Linked DNA regions of Homo sapiens: all the other regions are linked to region 1. The links are contacts of gene promoters, found by promoter capture Hi-C in human tissues and cell types (Jung and others, 2019). All regions are on one chromosome and are shown on one strand. Each heading gives the region's core, a stretch centred on a gene start or on the middle of the fragment in contact. The rest is flanking DNA. Distances are from core to core; before and after follow the strand shown. Region 1 holds the start of TBC1D9 (TBC1 domain family member 9). Region 2 overlaps SCOC-AS1 (SCOC antisense RNA 1). Region 3 overlaps SCOC (short coiled-coil protein). Region 4 overlaps RNF150 (ring finger protein 150). Region 5 overlaps CLGN (calmegin).

The links. Contacts are between HindIII fragments. The study calls those that stand out against the background at their distance.
Region 2: a fragment that was not itself captured here is called in contact with the fragment with the promoter of TBC1D9 in region 1 in 1 of the 25 tissues and cell types used here (bladder).
Region 3: a fragment that was not itself captured here is called in contact with the fragment with the promoter of TBC1D9 in region 1 in 1 of the 25 tissues and cell types used here (mesendoderm cells).
Region 4: a contact is called between a fragment that was not itself captured here and the fragment with the promoter of TBC1D9 in region 1, in 2 of the 25 tissues and cell types used here (dorsolateral prefrontal cortex and hippocampus).
Region 5: a fragment that was not itself captured here is called in contact with the fragment with the promoter of TBC1D9 in region 1 in 2 of the 25 tissues and cell types used here (dorsolateral prefrontal cortex and mesenchymal stem cells).

Annotation. Positions count from the first base shown.
Region 1 is chr4:140,755,067-140,757,742 of GRCh38, reverse strand. TBC1D9 (TBC1 domain family member 9) reads left to right here and starts at 1,358. Exons shown (of 21, transcript NM_015130.3): 1 at 1,358-1,827. The coding sequence starts at 1,698. RefSeq lists enhancers at 836-885, 376-1,017, 1,018-1,660 and a silencer at 1,316-2,005. The HindIII fragment of the contact is 15,545 bases long and covers 1-2,676 here.
Region 2 is chr4:140,364,351-140,367,026 of GRCh38, reverse strand. The region is part of intron 2 of SCOC-AS1 (SCOC antisense RNA 1); the gene reads left to right. It also overlaps a transcript of SCOC not described here and the pseudogene RPL14P3. Among named protein-coding and RNA genes, the nearest start is that of SCOC-AS1, 7.7 kb to the left of the region's middle. The HindIII fragment of the contact is 4,048 bases long and covers 1-2,676 here.
Region 3 is chr4:140,382,445-140,385,120 of GRCh38, reverse strand. SCOC (short coiled-coil protein) reads right to left here. Exons shown (of 4, transcript NM_001153484.2): 4 at 1-2,676. Among named protein-coding and RNA genes, the nearest start is that of SCOC, 10 kb to the right of the region's middle. The HindIII fragment of the contact is 3,780 bases long and covers 1-2,676 here.
Region 4 is chr4:141,127,961-141,130,636 of GRCh38, reverse strand. The region is part of intron 1 of RNF150 (ring finger protein 150); the gene reads left to right. Among named protein-coding and RNA genes, the nearest start is that of RNF150, 4.2 kb to the left of the region's middle. The HindIII fragment of the contact is 3,702 bases long and covers 1-2,676 here.
Region 5 is chr4:140,420,866-140,423,541 of GRCh38, reverse strand. All of the region lies in intron 1 of CLGN (calmegin), which reads left to right. Among named protein-coding and RNA genes, the nearest start is that of CLGN, 5.4 kb to the left of the region's middle. The HindIII fragment of the contact is 3,396 bases long and covers 1-2,676 here.

The sequences.
Region 1 (2,676 bases), core at 109-2,608:
GCGGTAGGAAGCGAACAGATGAAATGGCAGTCTCATTAGAATGGCTGGTGATTTGCTCATTCGACTAATTGAAGGAATTCAACAATTCAAGTCGGAGCTACAAAAGTCACAATTTTGAAGCCCACACAAGAAGGTTTCATTTGAATCTCTGCTCATTTGGAAAGGGAAAAGTCCCTAGGATTGCCCAGCATCCACAACAAAGCAGAGTCTGCTAAATTCCCATCATTTGGGAAGAGGAACTTTTTTTTTTTTTTTTTTTTTTTTTTTTTTGGCTGAACTATCCTCCAGATCTCCTGGGCGGGAGGAAAAAAAAATGGTCATCAGATATGTAGGCAGATGGGCTGTGATCACCACTGGAAGCTCGAAGTATTTGGGGAAACTGAAACTGTCTAGGGATAAAGCTGCCCTGGTTTGTGTGTTTCTGGTTTCACTGATTAAAAAAAAAATCCATCTACCAAGAGTGGATAAATTTTAAAATTCTGCCATGCCCAGTTTTCGAAGCCCCAAATGCGATATAGGAACAGCTGTGGTGTGAATTAGTTGGTCTAAGCTTTTGGGCCGCTTCCAACTTCTCTATTGCTCACGCCCTACAGGTCAAGGAAAGAAGTGATGTAATGCACTTAGCTAGGCCACTTTAATTACAATGGAATGGAGAGGGGGGAGGGGTCACAAGCGGTGACAAGTTTAGCGCATGACTTGCCCTGGGGATGCAGGAAACAAAAACATCGACGACCATTGGCTGCGTTGGCTTCCGACCCCGGGTCTCTAACCGAGCTCCAGGTCTGGAACCTTGAAACACTTTTCCTGGGAAAAGGGGTGGCGCTATCCCATAGAGCGTCAACCTTAAACACAAACAGCACACACGCACCCACGCAGGCTGGCGGCGTCCTCCCTGCTGGGATGGGCGTCGGGCCCAGTGCTTGGCACACGGTCCCCAGGAGCTTCCCCCGAAGGTTCCCCCGAAGCCAGCCACAGCTGCTCAGCTCGGCGCGCGGAGCCCGCGGTGGTACCGAGTCCGCACAAACCCGGACCCGCTCCAAGTGAGCCGCGTTGTCGTCATTCATTCGCAGTGTCCGGAGCGTCCTTCCAGCGGGGAGCTGGGCTTCCCTAGTGGCGCCTGCGGCCCCGACACGGCGCGTTAAGGCGCGGCGACTTCGGGAGCTCGAGCAGGTAGAGACGGGAGGGGCTCTGGAGCTCCAGTCGGCGCCGCGGGAGCAGCAGCGCCGGAGCCCAGCTTGGCCCTGACCGCGGGGCCGAATCCGCTCGGGTGGCCCTTAGCCCTGCCTGGCGCTGAGCCGGATCCCGGGACTGAGCTATACCACTTCCTCCTCCTCCCGCTCCCTTCCTCCTCCTCTTCCTCCTCCTCCCGCTCCTCCCGCCGCCGTGGGCCGGGAGCCGGGCTGCAGAGTGCCAGGCCGGGCGTCTGCGGCCGCGGGCTCTCGCGGGGCGGCGACGCCGCGGGGAGGATGCTGCTTGCCGCGCCCGCGTCCTCACCGTCCTCCCGGGCCGCCTGCTGGGGCTTTGTTGTGGCCCGGACGCCGCGGGCCACCCCCTGAAGTCGCCTGCCGCCGCCGCCGCCGCACCTAGCGGACGGGCGGGCGGGCGCGCGTGTGCCCAGGAGTGCGCGCCTGTCGCGGTGGTGGGTGCAGGACTGGACCCACGGGCCCATTGTGCGCCCGCCCGCGGCAGCCAGGACCATGTGGGTGAACCCGGAGGAGGTGTTGCTGGCCAACGCGCTGTGGATCACCGAGAGGGCCAACCCATACTTCATCCTGCAGCGGAGGAAGGGCCACGCCGGCGATGGAGGCGGCGGCGGCGGACTGGCGGGTAAGGACCGTGGCCGATCCCTGCAGGAGGGGAGCCGGGAGCGCTGCGGCGCCGCCCGCGGCCTGGGCTGCAGGCTCGGGAGACGCCGCCCGGTCCCCTGGGGCTGGGCGACCCGCCCTGCCTCGTTGTATGCGAGGCATCGAGAGTCGTGATGTTCAGGTTGGGCAGAGATGCTTCTTTTTTTGACTCTGTCAGGCTTGGGGCCCTCAGCGTACTGAGCGCTCTTTAAGTGGATATGTTGAGGAGAATGGGAAAGAGTGAGTCTGGGGCGGAGGGAATGTATTATCCCCTATATATTGAATGCATCATTCCCTTCCCCTCCCCCCCTTAAAAATATTGTTTTCCAAATGGAAAAGAGGGATGGAAGAAGGTTAATTTTTGCTCCACTTTCTTTACTGGCAACAGCAGGATCAGGTATAAAATGCTCTTTTGTTTCCAGGGAAGCGATAAGTAAGGAACTGATGTGGTCATTTCCTATATGAGTTATGACCGAAGAGAATGAATACGGAAACAGGAATTTTTTTGTTTCACCTAATTAGACATAAAGCAAAGCAAATTGTCTGGTTCTAGTTGTAAAAATAATTGGCTGTATAACTGCATTTTAACTATTTTTGCTCAATCACTTCTTCCCTAAACCCCCTCCCTTCAAGGTATTATTGTAATTGTTGCTGAAGCCATGTCATATCATTCAGGATAATAAGATCAGTCAGACCCATATCCAAAGTAGTGCCATATTAGAAATAATCTCGAACTCATACCATACTAGAGAAATTGGACCTTCTCCATCTCTGTGTTATTTAGAATGAACAGAACTGGAATACTTTTTACAGTGAAAAAGTTAGCAGAAGA
Region 2 (2,676 bases), core at 57-2,556, 390 kb after region 1:
ACTATGTTGGTCAAGCTAGTCTCAAACTCCTGACCTCAAGCGATCCACCCACCTGGGCCTCCCAAAGTGCTGGGATTACATGCGTGAGCCACCACGCCTGGTCAATAACTAATATTTTATAAAAGAATGCACCTGGCCTTCTTCCTTCTTGCCAAACGCCACCAACATGGTGTTCAGGCGCTTCGTGGAGGTTGGCCGTGTGGGCTACATCCCCTCTGGACCTCGTGCCAGAAAATTGGTTGCAACTGTAGATGTTATTGATCAAAACAGGGCTTTGGTTGATGGACCTTGCACTCAAGTGAGGAGACAGACCATGCCTTTCAAGTGCATGCAGCTCACTGATTTCAACCTCAAGTTTCCACACAGAGCCCACCAGAAGTATGTCAGACAAGCCTGGCAGAAGGCAAACATCAATACAAAATGGGCAGCCACACGATGGGCCAAGAAGATTGAAGCCAGAGAAAGGAAAGCCAAGATGACAGATTTTGATCATTTTAAAGTTATGAAGGCAATGAGGAACAGAATAATCAAGAATGAAGTTAAGAAGCTTCAAAAGGCAGCTCTCCAAAAGCTTCTCCCAAAAAAGCACCTGCTGCGAAGCGTGCTACTGCTGCTGCAGCTGCTGCTAAAGTTCTAGCAAAAAGATGACCGCTGCAGGCAAGAAGGCTCCAGCTTAGAAGCTTCCTGCCCAGAAAGCCACAGGCCAGAAGGCAGCGCCTCCTCCAAAAGCTCAGAAGGGTCAAAAAGCTCCAGCCCAGAAAGCACCTGCTCCAAAAGCGTTTGGCAAGAAAGAGGTGATTAGAAAAGTAATAAAAGTTCTATTTGGGAAAAAAAAAAAAAAAAGAAAGAAAGAAAAGGAGGCACCCAAGATTGCAAGCAAGGCTCTAAAATGCTAGGCTGCTCATGGATTTTTAAAATTGCATTATACAAACATGATCTTTACAGTTTTCTGTTTCCCTGGTAACCATTTATGATAAAAATAATCAACTTGTTAGAGTTCCTCTGTCAGCTTTTGTCAGGATCTGGGATGTTACCCTACAGTTGACCCTTGAATAATGTGGGGCTTAGGAGGTGCCAATACCCTGTGTAATGGAAAATCCATGTATAACTTTTGACTCCCCCAAAGTATAATTGCTAATAACCTATGTTGACTGGAAGCACTACCAATAACATAAACAGTCAATTAACACATATTTTGTATATATGTTGTATTCTTACAATAAAGTAAGCTAGAGAAAAGAAAATGTTATTAAGAAAGTAAGAAGGAAGAGAAAATATATTTACATTACGTGGAAGTGGGTCATCATGAAAGTCTTCATCTTCTTCATTTTCACATTGAACAAGCTGAGGAGAAGGAGGAAGAGAAGGGGTTGGTCTTCCTGTCCCAGAGGCAACAGAGGCAGAAGAGATGGAGGAGAAAAAGGGAGGAAGGAGAGTCAGACACTCAGTGAAACTTTATGAAAATACATTGTAATTTCTGTCTGACTTTTTGCTCCTTTTCATTTCTCTTAGAATGTTTCTATATGGTAACACCTTTCTTCCACTGCTTTGGTTTCAGTGCCTTTATCAAAGAAGTTTCAGTGCCTGTATCATAGAAGCCATGCCATTCTTTTTGTCCAAGAAGTCAAAAGCAGTCTTGAATAACTGGAACCCTTCTGCCAGATTGTCTAATGTCAATTTTTCTGGCACTGCCTCTTCTATGTCTTCTTTCTCATCATGTGGCACTGGTTTGAAAGCACCAATCTCCACCATGTCTTCTTCTGTTAATTCCTCTGCTGTGGTATCTGTTAGCTCTTACATTTCTCCAAGATCCAGATCTTGAAACCCTTCACTTTTCACTTTTTTTTTTTTTTTGCCATATCCATATCTTTCATGATTTCTTTGATTGGCTCTGTGGTAAATCCTGTGAAGTCATGCACAATATCTGGATAGTTTTCTTCAGCAGGAATTTATTATTTCAATCTTGATGACCTTCACAACTTTTTTTTATAACAACGATGACATCTTCAATGGTGTAATCATTCCAGACTGTCATGATGCTCTCTCTATCAGAATTCTCTTCCATGGCATTGACAGTCCTTTCCATTGAGTACCCTGTGTAATAAGGCTTAAGGGTTCTTAAGAGCCAAGGATCTAGAAGCTGAATTAAAGACATTGTGTTTGGGGGCAAGTAGACCACATTGACAGCTTCAGTTTTGACCTCATGGGGTTCTGGGTGGCCAGAGGCACTGTCCAATATCAGAAAAAAATTTAAAGGTAGTCCCTATGGGCAAGGTAATTCCTGACTTCAGGGACAAAGCATTGATGGAAACAATCCAGAAAAAGGGTTCTCATTGTCTGGGCCTTCTTGTTGTACAGCCATTAAGACTGGCAGCTGATGTTTTTCTTTTCCCTTCAAGGCTCAGGGATGAGCAGCTTTATAGATAAGGGCAGTCCTGATCATAACCCCCCTGCATTTGCACAAAACAGTATAGGTAGCCTATCCCTTCCTGCCTTAAATCCTGGTGCTCACTTCTCTTCCTTACTAATAAATGTCCTTTGTGGATTTTTTTTCCAGAATAGGGCACTTTGATCTGCATTAGAAACCTGTTCAGGCAGATATTCTGTCTCCTCAATGATTTTCTTAATGGCATCTGGAAACTTGTCTGCTGTCTCTTGATTGGCAGAAGCTTCTTC
Region 3 (2,676 bases), core at 94-2,593, 370 kb after region 1:
AATTTGTATTGGGAAACAGTGGGGAAAATGGGTGCCTTAAACTATTTGGGATGCTATAACAAAATATAGACTGGGTGGCTTATAAACAAATTTATTTCTCAGTTTTGGAAGCTGGAAGTCTGAGAGATCAGTGTTGAGGGCCCTCTTCCAAGATGCAGACTGCTGTCTTCTATGTGGCAGAAAGAGAGCTCTCTGGGGTTTCTTTTAATGACACAATCCCATTCATGAGGGTTTCACCCTCATTACCTAATTATCTCCCAAAAGCCCCACCTCCTAAAAGCATCACATTGGGGTTAGGATTTCAACCTAAGAATTTTGGGAGGACACATTCAGTCCATAACAAGGAGTATGCTGATTTTTCCCTACCAAACATTATTCTACCAGCATGTAAACTAGGAAGTATTAAAGGAAAAACCATTCTGACACTTGTTAAAGCAGTAAAGAAGACTTTACTCAGGACTGTATATGTTAAGACCATCACCCAATAAGGGAAAGAAACTGGGCTCAACTAACACAGCAAATACAACTGAGGATTTATAGTCAATGAGCAGTGATGAGGTCAGTGGATGGAAAACTACTAACTGGAGACATCAAGAGTAGGGTGATTCTTGCCAAAGACAGGCCAGGTTGACGATCATCAGTTATTGAGGATGGGATTATCTCTAAACTCATTTAGCAGGATTTTTGCTAAAACTGGACTAGTCAAAAACAGGGCTCAGAGGTGCCTGTCTAAAATTTGGTCGAGTCTTTTCCAGAAGCTGGACACAGTCCCTGTGCACACTGTGTACCACCTATATTTCTAATGAAGAAATTATCCTGAAGTATTGCATAGCAAAAACTAAGTATATAGCATTAGCTTACCATTAACATGACAAGCAGTGGGGATATATTTTGACACCTACTAATCTGATAGCTCTAGCTGGAAAAAGCCAGAATGTTAAGTGAATTGGCTATTCCTTGCTTTCAGCAAGGTATCAAAAAAATTGACATTTTCAAGCAAAGATAGAAGGGAATAGACAAAGTTTTGATACAAGGAACCTCATGAAATTAAGCCAATTGTTTCTGAAGTCTGAATAGCAGCAAAGGTTCAAAATTATTTTTGAGGTGGGGGAGATTGGGGGGAAGCCCATGAAGACTTCTCTACCAATCGTTAAGCCAAAGGAACCCAGCTTTGCAGTGATGATCTGCATGTAACATTCCCAGTGTAATCTTATTTTTAGTTGATCTCAAGATAGCCTCCATTAAAGAAAGGCAAAAATAATACATACTTTGAGAATTTGGTCAAAAGCTTGGTTGTGGTTCCTCGGCATATGCAATCAGAAGCACACTGATAAAAAGGCTTGAGTTTTTGAGAGAATCGTATTCCACAGAAACATGAGCTTGGCCTTAAAATGATGGGCACCAAATTCACACCAGCAGGAAGTGGACTGTCTTCACAATTCCCATGGAGTGAACACCCAATCTCTACTTCTGAGGTAGCCATGGAAGAAAATGGATAAGGAGTAACTTTCCAGAGGGGAAACCATGGAGTTCAATGAACAAGGGAGTCCCCTGCCAGAGATCAGAATCATAGTTGAATCAAGGAACTTCTCCACTGCTAGGGACAAAATCTTCATACATCTCCCAGGAGCATTCCACAATTTTTACGTTTCCCTTTATTCCATTTTCCAAATTGAGACTTTTTATTTGGCCATCCTGTCCCAACTACATTATAAATGGGCAGCAGCAAGGGTGAGAGCAAATAATTTGCCTATCAGTTTAGAGATTGTCAGACTATTAGAAGCCACATGTAAAGGGATGGACCTTTAATAGAGATCCTAGATTGTGAGCTGAATCACTAGCTGGATGAAGAGGGATTACTTTCTGTGTAAGGGAAGATACTTGGTAGCACAAGAAGAGCTGTGGCTGAGGCTGCTAGCAGCCACCAAAATCTTGTATTTATAGCTGGAAGATGGCTTCCCAGCCAGGGACTACATTTCTCAGCTCCTCTTGTATCTAGATGTAACTAAGTCTCCACACCACTGGAATATGAGAAGATATATGAGCCATTTCCAGGCACAGCCCATAACACCTTGCATATGTACACTTCCATGTTCTTTTTCTGCAAATTAGAAGAATAACTAGAGTGACTTGAAAGCCATGATTTAAAATGGCAGCACCATCCTCAGCCAAAGTCCCTGAATAACTGTTTGAACAAGGGCTGCTAGCCTGCAATGCTGACCTTGGAACCACTGGTTGGGAGAGAAACTTCTATATTTATATTCTTTATCACTGGGTCTCTTGCTAAAGTAGCTTAGCCTACCCTAAAAAATACAACTTCCTTTTTCCCTGGAGATACTGGATCCTTTGAGTGCTTTGCTTTTGTTTTCCAAATTAATGTATAATAGCCTATGATATTTATATTGATAACCAGTTATAGTTGTATTAATAAAAATATTATTCCCCTAAATAATCAGTAACTGGGTACTTAAATAAGATACACTATTCTGTGGCATTGAATAACCCTGGATACACCACTATACCTAAATACCCCATTTACTTAGGCAACTATATCAAAACACACACAACCTCTGAAATAGCTTTTTATTAAACGGCAAAGCAGAACTGCAACACAATTTAAATGTCTGTAAATTAGGTCACAAAAGGGATGCAAAATGTTTGCAGTTTGACTATTAT
Region 4 (2,676 bases), core at 88-2,587, 370 kb before region 1:
CATGAAATCTTGAACTCAACTTCTTTGAACATAAAGTAAGAGGCATCATTTGTTCCTGTCTAAAAAGGTTCTCTAGAACTGCCAACACATTGGATCAATTAATGGCTTGCTTATTTTTAAAGAAAACACTAAGCAGATTTCCCACACAAATGATGCTTGATTAAGATAGTGGGAGTGGAAGTTTAGTAATACTGTAGTTTGAACGTTAAAGGAAAAAAAAAATTGGAAATTGTCTATTATCTAATTGTTCTGTTTCCAAAAATGTATTCATGCTGTATCTGCCAATGGCCAGGAAACTCCATATTATCTTCTGACATTTTGCCACATTAGGAGACTCTGTTCACTTCAGTCAGAGGCTAGCATTGATTTCTGCTAGAGTGTCATTATGAGCAGATACATGACAGGGTAGCATGGTAAACCCTTGACTATACTCTGAAATTCTTCTGCCTAAATCTCAAACACTGCCAGCTCTTGTCTGGCTGTCAGTGTCTTCCATGTAGTCCAGATCTTGAAAGCTTTACTTTTCCTAGTTAAATTTGAGGTCAGATTTCTGAATTCAGTTTGAGAAACTGCACATTTTAGATGCTAATCAAATATTTTTATTTTGTGAACTTGGGATACCATACCAGAAAATCTGCATATTTGTGAACTTTTAAATTCAGTTTTTAAAAAGTTTTAAAAACTGCAAAAGCTGATGATATATCTATCACCTTTCCTTAGATGCTTTATTTTTGGAACTGATAGATTTCAGGTGAGAAGGTCTGTATTTAGTGTTATGCAACCTGTCGTTTAACATCTATGCATTTGTGTATCTTGAAATTCAATTAAATAGAAATTGTTTTGTCCTTTTCATATACGTTTTCTGTTTTTTTCTTTTCCTGCTTAAATAATTTTGATTTTCTGCCACTTATGTAACTATAACTTCTCATTCAAAAAGACACCACTTCTCCTGGGATAGACCAGTAGTTTTGCTTTATAACAAGTCACTTTCCTCCCCAGTATAACAGCTTTACTGAAATATAAACATACTCTGCAGTTCACTCATTTAAAGTATGCATTTCAATGGCTTTTAGTGTATTGACTGAGTTGTGCAGCCATCATCACTATCTAGTTCTAATAAGAAACTCTTGTACTTCCCCAATATTCCCCAACTCCTAGTCACTCCCCATTATTCCCCAACTCCCAGCCCTAGGCTAATCTACATTCTGTCTTCATGTATTTAAATGCCTCTTTTGTACCTTTCATATAAATGGAATCATATAATATGTGGACTTCTGTGATTGGCCTCTTTGATTTAGCATAATCTTTCTAAGGTTCATCAAGGTTGTAGCATGCGTCAGTACTTAAACCCTTTTTATTGCCAAATAATATTTCGTTGTATGGATATATCACATTTTGTGTATTTATTCATCAACTGATGGAAAATTACGTTGTTTCTACCTTTTAATTGTTATGAAAAATAGTGCTATGAACATTCATGTACAAGTTTTTGTATGGACATTTCTCTTGATTATATACCTAGGAGTGGAACTTCTGAGTCATATGGCAACTCTATGATTTAATCTTTTGAGGACCTTCTAGACTGTTTTCCAAAACAACTGCATCATTTTGCATTCTCACCAGCAGTGTTTGAGGGTTCCAATTTCTCCACAGCCTCATCAACATTTGTTACTATCTTTTTTATTTTGCCCATTCAAGTGGATGTGAAGTGGCATCTTCATTTTGTTTTAAATTTTCATTTCCCTGATGACTAACTGTTACTTTTTAACATAGTCTTGTTTTTTTCTGCTATTCATTTTATTCCCTTTCACCTTACACCCACCATTATTTATTCTTTTCCAGACTTTCAACTCATACACTTTTATGCTAGGGAAGAGAGAGTGATTAATAGAGAGAATCTGCTTCTCTCACTTTTTTTTTAAGTCTATGGACCAGAGATTTATATGTCCCCTATTAAGGGACATAAGGCTGTATCTTTAGTGCAAGAGCACCAAGAAGGCCATAGCAAAAAGCTATAGAGAAATGCATCTTCCAAGTAGTAAAAGCCCCAGAAGTGAACTTTCAGTTATAGGCAAAGGCAGTGAGACTCAAATTACCTCCTCAAAGCTGGTCTGATGCCTGCCTGTGAAGCTTCTTTCGGTGTACCCTAAGGAAAATGATGATATCAGAAATTTCTAGAGGCAGTTTAGGGCACTAATTAAATAGGAGTGTAGCCTCTAGAGCCAACCACTTGGATTTGTGTCCTGGTGGCACTACTTTCTCACTGTGTATCTTTGTGCAAGTTAACCTCCCAGGTCTTGGGTTTCCTCCTTTGTGAAGTGGAGGATAACACCATACCTCGATTGCTTGTTATGTGAATTAGATGGATTAATGCATGTACAGTGTTTAAATCTGTAGCTGGCACAAAGCAGTCAAAAAATGTTAGCCCTTCTAAGCATTGGACCCAGTGACACACAACGACATGCAGGAGCTACACACTGGATCATCATACCTCTGAGGCTCACTGAGTTCCTGGCAGCCTTGGGAAAGAACTCCTTATTTACCCTTTCATACTGAAGAGGCCAGAGCAGTGGTGCCAATTTGTTTGTGGCTCAGCTAATTGAAACAGGGTGTTCCAGTTCCCTTTGATTGATGAACATTTAAGATTCTCCTATTGAGTTTGTACTTTCTTTTGGC
Region 5 (2,676 bases), core at 79-2,578, 330 kb after region 1:
TATGAAGCCAGCATAACCCTGTTATCAAAGCCAAAGACACTACAAGAAAACTACAGAGCAATATTCCAGATGATTATTGATGCAGAAATTCTTAACAAAATACTTGACAACAAAATTCAGCTGCATATTAAAAGAGTTATATACTATGACCATGTTGGATTTATTCCTAAAATTCAAGGATGATTCAACATAAGAAAATCAGTGTACCATGCCACATTTACAATGTAGGGAGGGGAGAACACATGATCATCTTTATTCATGCAGAAAAAGCATTTGACATGATTCAACACTCTTTCATAATAAAAAACACTCAGTACACTAGGAATAGAAGGAAACCACCTCAACATAGTAAAGGTCATATATGAAAAGCCCACAGTTAACATCAGACTAAATGGTGAAAGACTGAAAGCTTTTCCTTTAAGATCTAGAATAAGACAAGGATGCCTGCTTTTTCCACTTCTCCCGAGCCAGAGAAATTAGGGAAGAAAAAGAAAGAAAAAAGACATTCAAATTGAAAAGGAAGAAGTAAAATTATCTCAGCAGATAACATGATCTTATATGTATGTACAAAACCCTAAAGATTTCACGAACACAATACAAAAGTCTGTTAGAAATAATAAATGAAGGCCAGGCATGGTGGCTCATGCCTGTAGTCCCAGCAATTTTGGAGGCCAAGGTAGCCAGATCAGTTGAGTCTAGGAGTTTAAGACCAGCCTGCGCAACATGGCAAAAACCATCTCTACAGAAAAATACAGAACATTAGCTGGGCATGGTGATGCTTGCCTGTAGTCCCAGCTACTCGAGAGGCTGAAGTGGAGGATCACCTGAGTCCAGGAGTTCAAGGCTGCAATGGGCCATGATGGTGCCACTGCACTCCAGCCTGGGTAACAGAGTGAGATCCCATCTCAAAAAACAAACAAATGAATTCACTAAAGTTGCAGGGTAAAAAAACTAGCACACAAAAATTAGTTGCACTTCTGTATACTAACAATGAACAGGAAATTAAGAAAACAATTCCATTTATAACAACATAAAAAAGAATAAAATACTTAGGAATAAATCAAGGAAGTAAAATACTTGTACATGAAAAATTATGAAATGCTGCTGAAAGAAATTAAGAAACAAATATTAATCAATGGAAAGACATTGTGTTCATTGGGATTGGAAGACTTAATAAGATGGAAACACAACCCAAAGTAATCTACAGATTCAGTGCAATCCCTGTCATAATCCTAATAGCACTTTTTGCAAGAATAGTAAAATTCATATAGAATCTCAAGGGACCCCAAATAGCCAGAACAATCTTGGGAAAGAATAAGTTTGGAAATCTCACATCTCTGTTTCAAAACTTATTACAAAGCTATAGTAATCAAATCAGTGTGAGACTGGCATAAAGACAGACATATATATCAATGGGATACAATAAAGAGCCTAGTAATAAATTCCCACATATATGTTCAAATTTTTTTTATAAAAGTGCCAAGACCATTTTGTGAGAAAGGACAGTCTTCTCATGAGATGATATTGGGGAAACTGGCTATCCACATGCAAAAGAATGAGGTTGTAACCTTACCTTAAATCATAGACAAAAATTAACTCGAAATGGATTGAAGACTTAAACATAAGAAAACTATAAAACTGTTAAAAGAAAACATGGAAAGCTTCATGACATTGAATTTGCCAGTAATTTTTATATGACACCAAAAGCACAGACAACAAAAGAAAAAATATATAAATTGGAAAACTCAAAATTAAAAAGTTCTGTGCATCAAAGAACACAACAAAATGAAAAACCTATGCAATGGGAGAAAATATTTGCCAATCATATATTTGATAAGGGGTCAGTATCCAGAATTTGTAGGAACTCCTACAACTCAAAACAAAAACAAAACCTGATTTTTTAAATAGGCAAAGGACTTGAATAGACATGTTTCCCTTGAAGATGTATAAATAGCCAACAAGCACATGAAAAGATACTCAGTATCACTAATCATCAGGGAAATGCAAATCAAACCACAATATGATACTACGCCATATTAGGACCTATTACAATGACTACTATTTAAAAAAACATAATTTTGAACAAATGTTGGCAAGGATGTGTAGAAATTGGAACCCTTGTGCCTTGTTGGTGGGAAGGTAAAATGGTAAAGCCACTGTGGAAAACAGTATGAGGATTCAAAAAAAAATAGAATTATCATATGACCAAGCAATTCAACTTATGGGTATATACTCAAAAGAATTGAAAACAAGGTCTCGAAGAGTTATTTGTATACCCATATTCATTGTAGGATTATTCACAACAGCCAACAGGTGGAAGCAACCCAAGTGTCCACTGACAGATGAATGTATAAACAAAATGTGGTGTATACACACAATGGAATACTGTCCAGCTTTAAAAAGGAAGGAAATTTGATACATGCTACAACATGGATGAAGCTTCAGGGCATTATGCTAAGTAAAATAAGCCAGTTACAGAAAGACCAATACTGTATGATTCCACTTATATGCAGTACCTAGAGTAGTCAAAATCATAGAGATAGATATTAGAAAGATGGTTTCCAGGGGCTGGAGGGAAGGGTAGTGGGGAGTTGTTAAAAGTGTATAGCGTTTTAGTTTTAGAGCATGAAGAAAGTTTTGGAAATTAGTTGTACAACAATGAGAATGTTTTACCAC